Linked DNA regions of Homo sapiens: region 2 is linked to region 1. Evidence: promoter capture Hi-C in human tissues and cell types (Jung and others, 2019). All regions are on one chromosome and are shown on one strand. Each heading gives the region's core, a stretch centred on a gene start or on the middle of the fragment in contact. The rest is flanking DNA. Distances are from core to core; before and after follow the strand shown.

Region 1 (3,270 bases), core at 278-2,777:
CTGGGCAACAAGGCAACATCCTGCCTCAAAAAAACTCTCAAAAAAAAAAAATCTTGAATAGAGCTCAGATCCAAAAACATTCCGTTATATTTTAGAAGAATTTGGAGAATTTTCATTTATTATACATAGTAAATATTAGATAACATTATTATTTTTAATTTTCTTGATGCAAATAGTATTACGGTTTTAGTAAAACAACACTCTTATCATTGAGTCAGGCATTACCCACTACTTAAATGTCGAGCTTACCATCCTGGCTATCACGGTGAAACCCCATCTCTACAAAAATACAAAAAATTATCCGGGCACGGTGGCACACCCCTGTAATTACAGCCACTTGGGAAGCTGAGGCAGGAGAATCGCTTGAACCCGGGAGGCAGAGGTTGCAGTGAGGCGAGATCGCGCCACTGCACTCCAGCCTGGGCGACACAGCTAGACCCCCTCTCAAAAAAAAAAAAAAAAAAAAAATGTCGAGCTTCATCTCTGCAATGAATTTCCCATTGACTCTCAAACTGTTCACCATAAAATTTATTTACGAGACGGCGAATACACAAAACGCTAAAAAACAGGTGCAGCTACAATGGATATTTATTCGTGGTACTGGATGGTCAACATACCCATAGGTTTAAGTTTTTTCGAAAAAAAATGCGGGAAAAATACACTTAGTACAGTCATCCTGTTAATGGTAAATTCGATTATTCTAGTATTAGTGTGTAAACCCTCCATCCTTTCTTCCAGGAAGCCTGGTTATGAAGCTCTTTGGAGACGTACAGAGCTAGGAACTTCAGATGAAAAGAATGGCTGAGTATTCTTAGGTTTCTTTAGTAGAAAGACTCGCGGTCTACAAACGTTTATATGCACATGCAGAAATACGCACACCCTAGACAACTAAGAAAGCACCTTTCTACCGGAACGTAATGTGTCAATAAAAAATATACAGGTTTCACAAAGGCAAAATGCCAAAATCTCACATGAAACACTCGTTTGCATAAAAAAGGAAGCAGCTGCCCCCTTAAACCAACTTTTTCCCAATGCTCACCCGAACACGGTGGAGTCGCCAGGTCCGTGGGGCTACAGGATCTTGGGGACGGAGTCAATCGAACGCGAACGGCAAAATTCTTTTCCCTCTGAAACACAATTCACAAACGTTGCCTTGGAGACTTATTTTTTAAGGCCTCAGAACGCTTGGACACTTTTGAAGACGGGAACACACGGCTGAAAACAGCCCTCGGACGCGCCCATACTGCACTTCCCACCCGGCTCCTCTAGGGGACCGAAGGTCCCAATGGCCTCTTCGACGTGGCCTCACCCGATGGCTCCGCGACTCCTGCGGACTCCTGTGGAGTGGTCCAGGCCTCTGTAAGGAGGTTCCTCGATTACCCTGGGTCGATTGTGACCTCTGCCACCCCCCGAAACACCGCCCAACCCACTAGTCCACACGAGCCTCACCAAAGTAGTGAACGACCAGACAACACAAAGGAAAAAGTGGCTCTGAGGAAACAGGCGCCAGCGACCAAAAGAGAGAACTGGCGCGCCGCAACGTCACTTCCGTTTGGGGCATTGGAAGGGGCGTGGCTCGTTGTGTGGGCAGTTGGACAGGATGGAACTCTTCAGGATTCTAGTTTCCCTCCGCGTGGGTGCGGAGGTATCAAGGGGTCGGCTCAGTGCCTGGGTGGGCAAGAGAGAAATGGACCCACAGAGAAAGGTGGGGGTTAAATCAGGGCTGTGGGCGGGGCCCATGCCCGGGGGCGGGGCTGGAGGTGGGACCAGACCCAGCCGGTGGCTTCGGTGGCAGAATGGACCAGGAAGGCGAAACGTCGGGCGATGGACTCGCCCCTCAGGATGCTCATTAGAAACTTTCCCCACGTTCCTGGACCCCTTTCAGGATTCTCTCCAGTTGATAACCTGCCAATCCACAAAATGGCCTGCTTCCTGCATTCGATCACGTCTTTAGAACTTTATTTTCTCTTATTTCTTTTTATTTATCTGACCTTGCTAAACTCTAATCATTGATTCCTCTGCGTTTTCAGTTATCGATACTTTCTGTAAATATTGCAATTTTTTTCTTTTCTTTCTTTTTTCTTTTCTTTTCTTTTTTTCTTCGAGGTAGGGTCTGGCTCGGTTGCCAAGGCTGGAATGCAGTGGTAGGAACACGGCTCACTGCAGTCTCCACCTCTCCAGGCTCAAGCCATCCTTCCACCTCAGCCTCCCGAGTAGCTGGGACCACGGGCGCACCGCACCCGGCTAATTTTTGTATTATTATTATTATCATCATTATTATTATTTTGTAGAGACAGGATCTAACCATGTTGCCCAGGCTGGTCTGGAACTCCTGGGCTCAAGTGATCTGCCCGCCCTGCACTCCCGAAGTGGGATTACAGGCGTGAGCCATCATGCACCATGCCTGGCCTTATTGTATTTTTTTTTCTTCTTCAACAATGTATTTGTTACTATTTCTCAAATCTTATCAAATGATTCAAAGCCTCCTGTACTACTTTATGAAATAACACTGATACCAGGCATTCTTCACTTATTCTGTGCAGAAAAAGAAAGGACTGTTGGACTTGTGGTAGAGATTTAGTTGAATCTTCGGGTTATATTGGTATCTTTATAATACTGAGTCTTCCTATGTGTGAATATACAATATCTCTCTATTTAGGTCTTCTTTAAACTCTTTCAGTAATGTTTTGAAATTTTCAGTTTACAAATATTTTACCTCTTGGGGTAAAGTTATTCCCATGTAACTTATTTGTAAAAGGGATCACATTCTCAGTTTCCTTTTCTGATTGTTCATTGCTGGTGTATAGATACAAAACTAATTTTCATCTCTTGATGTTGTACTGTGCAACTTTACGGAATTTATTACAAGCTCTGCTAGTTTTCTTGTAGATTCTTCAAAATTCTCTATATATCAAATATCACCTATAAATATATTTTTATTTGTTCTATTCTAATTGAGAAACCTTTTATTTTATTTTCTTGTGTAATTGCTCTGGCTAGAATTTCCTGTAGAGGCTGGGCACGGTGGCTCACTCCTGTAATCCCAACATTTTGGGAGGCCGAGGTGGGTGGATCACCTGAGGTCAGGAGTTCAAGACCAGCCTGACCAACATGGTGAAACCCCGTCTCTACTAAAGATACAAAAAATTAGCCAGGCGTGGTGGTTGGCACCTGTAATCCCAGCTACTCGGGAGGCTGAGGCAGGAGAATCACTTGAACCTGGGAGGCGGAGGTTACGGAGTTTGCAGTGAGTGGAGATGGCTCCATTGC
Region 2 (3,270 bases), core at 197-2,696, 260 kb before region 1:
AGCTATTGACTTTTTATTTATTTATTTATTTTGAGACACAGTCTCTCTCTGTCACCCAGGCTGGAGTGCAGAGGTGTGATCTCGGCTCTCTGCAACCTCTGCCTCCCGGGTTCAAGTGATTCTCCTGCCTCAGCCTCCCAGGTAGCTGGGATTACAGGTGCCCGCCACCACGCCTGGCTAATTTTTGTATTTTTGATGGAGATGGGGTTTCACATGTTAGTCAGGCCGGTCTTGAACTCCTGACCTCAAGTGATCCACCCGCCTCGGCCACCCAAATGCTGGGATTACAGGCATGAGCCATTGCGCCAGGCCTGTTGATCTGTTTTTTATTTGATTTGATTTTTGTACATGGCAGAAAGTAGGGTTCAATCTACTTTCCTTTGCATCGAGTTTGTTCTTGGAAGGGTTTAGTTTGTTGTGCTGTGAAACACCTTATTAATAACATCCACTTGGCAGCAGAATGTGTTAGCCTAGGGTTCAATCTGTCTAAGTGGTGGTTGTCAGAGAGATCATTGGGTTTATAAAAAGGTCACAAAGGCAAGATTATGTTTGACAGAGCCCTGCTCATGAACATTCAGTTCCTCAGCAGACCAGCCTCTTGTCCATGACAGATCAAGGTCTCAGAACTAAGTGGATGTTGTAGGTCCATTAGGCAAATGTGAATTTAAATATCCCGGCTCGACCAGGCTTGGTGGCTCATGCTTGTAATCCCAGCACTTTGGGGGCTGAGGTGGGTGGATCACTTGAGGTCACGAGTTCAAGACCAGCCTGGCCAATGTGGTGAAACCCCATCTCTGCTAAAAATGCAAAATTAGCTGGGTGTGGTGGTGGGTGCCTGTAATCTCAGCTACTTGGGAGACTGAGGCAGGAGAATTGCTTGAATCTGGGAGGTAGAGGTTGCAGTGAGCTGAGATTGCGCCATTGCATTCCAGCCTGGGCGACAGAGTGAGACTTTGTCTCAAAAACAACAACTACAAAACTAAAAGAAAACAAGAAATAAATATCCTGGCTCTTTTTCTCCTGAAAATCACATGCTTCATTTTTACTCTTCCCAAAACACTTGTGATTTGGCTTTTGCTACATGTTTTTACTTTAGGTTCTCTCAGTAACTCCCTTGGTAATTTCCTTCTAACTTTTCCGTTTTATATACAGTCTTTAAAGTTCCATCTTTGGTCCATTTTCTTAGAGCCACTCTTGAGAGTTCTCACGTGTTGTTTGAAACACTTATCATATCGAGTGCTGATATGATGACATGCTTTCCTCAAAAATTACCCATTTGCATGTTAGCACCCTTCACCTAAACTTGGTTGTGTTCTTGTTTCCTCTGGAAGAAATTGGATGAAAATCATACAATAGTCAAGGCAACGTGTTTCCCTTTTAGGATTGTGCTTGTTGCTTTACATGTATGGCTTTATTTAATCCTGAAAACATTTCTTTCTTTTTGTTTTTGTTTTGTTTTGTTTTGAGACACAGTTTCACTCTGTCACCCAGGCTGGAGTGCCATGGCGCTATCTCAGCCCACGGCAACCACCTCCCGGGTTCAAGCAATTCTTGTGTCTCAGCCTCCCAAGTAGCTGGAATTATAAGTGTGCACCACCACACCTGGCTAATTTTTTTTGTATTTTTAGTAGAGATGGGGTTTTGCCATGTTGGCCAGGCTGATCTCAAACTCCTGACCTCAAGTGATCCACCTGCCTCGGCCTCCCAAAGTGCTGGGATTATAGGCATGAGCCACCACAGTTGGCCCTGAAAACATTTCTTTGACATGTCTTTTCTCATTCACCTTGTTCCACAAAGGAAGAAGCAGATAGAGGTGAACTATAACCTGGCAACTTGACGTTGAGACCACACTCCAACTTTGCTATCCTTTATTTCATAAGAACAGTGATGTGATTTTTCACATCAAATTAGGAATGTAGATTTGTAAGCTTGTTTGTTCTGATGATTCATAGTAATGAACTGCCTAGAATAACTGAGACGTTGCTTCCTTCTTTGTGATTATTCCTTTTCTTCCCTCCCTCCCTCCTTTTTTACTTTCTTCCTTTCCTCTTCTTTCTTCCCTCATTCCCTCCTCTTTCTTCCCTCATTCCCTCCTCTTTCTTCTCTCATTCCCTCCTTCCTTCTTGTCTTTCTTTCTTTCCTTCTTTATTTGACCTTTATTTCCCATAATTGCAGTTTTATGATCTAACCCCAGATTGTAGAACATGTAATAATTATACGATAGAAAAGATTTGTTCTCTCATATAGTTTAATTTTCTTCTGAGACTTTCTGGAGATGTCTTCAGGAATGGAAGCCACAGAATGTGGACTGTGTTTGGGATGCAGTTCACCCTTTTGATGAGAACTGGTAGAACTGGGTCTGCAGTGAAGGATGGGGTAGTAGATGGTGTCAGGGTTCATCCCACATCCCTAAGACCCTCCCGCCATCTCCACACACACCATCCTGTCTGCCAATGGTCAGCATCAGCTGAGGGATCCACTTTCCCCAATGCATGGTGGCAGAAAGGTAATGAATGCTTACAATTTTATGTTGCTCTGGCATTTTTTTTTTTTTTTTTGAGCCAGTGTCTCACAGTATTGTGCAGGCTGGAGTACAGTGGCTCACTGAAATCTTGAACTCCTGGGCTCAAGTGATCCTCCTCAGTCTCCCAAGTAGCTGGGACTACAGGCATGCATCATCACACCCAGTTAGGGGGTCTCTCTATGTGACTCAGGCTTGTCTTGAAATCCTGGCCTCAAACCAGGATTGGCCACCTTGGCTTCCTGAAGCACTGGGATTGTAGGTGTGAACCACTGCACCTGGCAGGCATCTATTTTGAATACAGGCTTAGCTTTCTGATGCTAGAGGCAGGGTTCCATTGCCTTTGACACAGTTTCCAATTCCACACCACCCTCAAATGGCTCAAGCTGGTGCAATTGTTGCTCCTTGCATCATCCTTTGAAAGTGCAAGTTGTAAAAGTTTATGGATTCACCTCAGAGGGTTTATCTGAGAAGTTGCCTCAAGCAGTTAGAAGATACAGCTTCCTGATGCAACTTCAGCTGCAGAGACCAGGGAAGGAGGGGAGGCCTTAGAGGCCTGAGACTTCTGCTGGCATCCTTCTCACCAGGCTGCCTCCTCCCGGGAGAGTCCCTCCTTCAGCCCCAGTCCCTGTGCAGGAGCCTGGTTTCTGGAAAAGGCCCCACAGCCTGGTGGACACAGACCCAATTCCAGTATCAGACCCATCAGTGACCACTGTGTTGGGATTCAACAGCCTCTCCAGACTGTGATT

The links. Contacts are between HindIII fragments. The study calls those that stand out against the background at their distance.
Region 2: a contact is called between a fragment that was not itself captured here and the fragment with the promoter of ZNF560 in region 1, in 9 of the 25 tissues and cell types used here (H1 embryonic stem cells, IMR-90 fibroblasts, aorta and 6 more).

Annotation. Positions count from the first base shown.
Region 1 is chr19:9,497,089-9,500,358 of GRCh38, forward strand. ZNF560 (zinc finger protein 560) reads right to left here and starts at 1,528. Exons shown (of 10, transcript NM_152476.3): 1 at 1,450-1,528; 2 at 1,040-1,127. The HindIII fragment of the contact is 15,358 bases long and covers 1-3,270 here.
Region 2 is chr19:9,240,804-9,244,073 of GRCh38, forward strand. It overlaps a transcript of OR7E24 not described here. Among named protein-coding and RNA genes, the nearest start is that of OR7E24, 8.5 kb to the right of the region's middle. The HindIII fragment of the contact is 9,125 bases long and covers 1-3,270 here.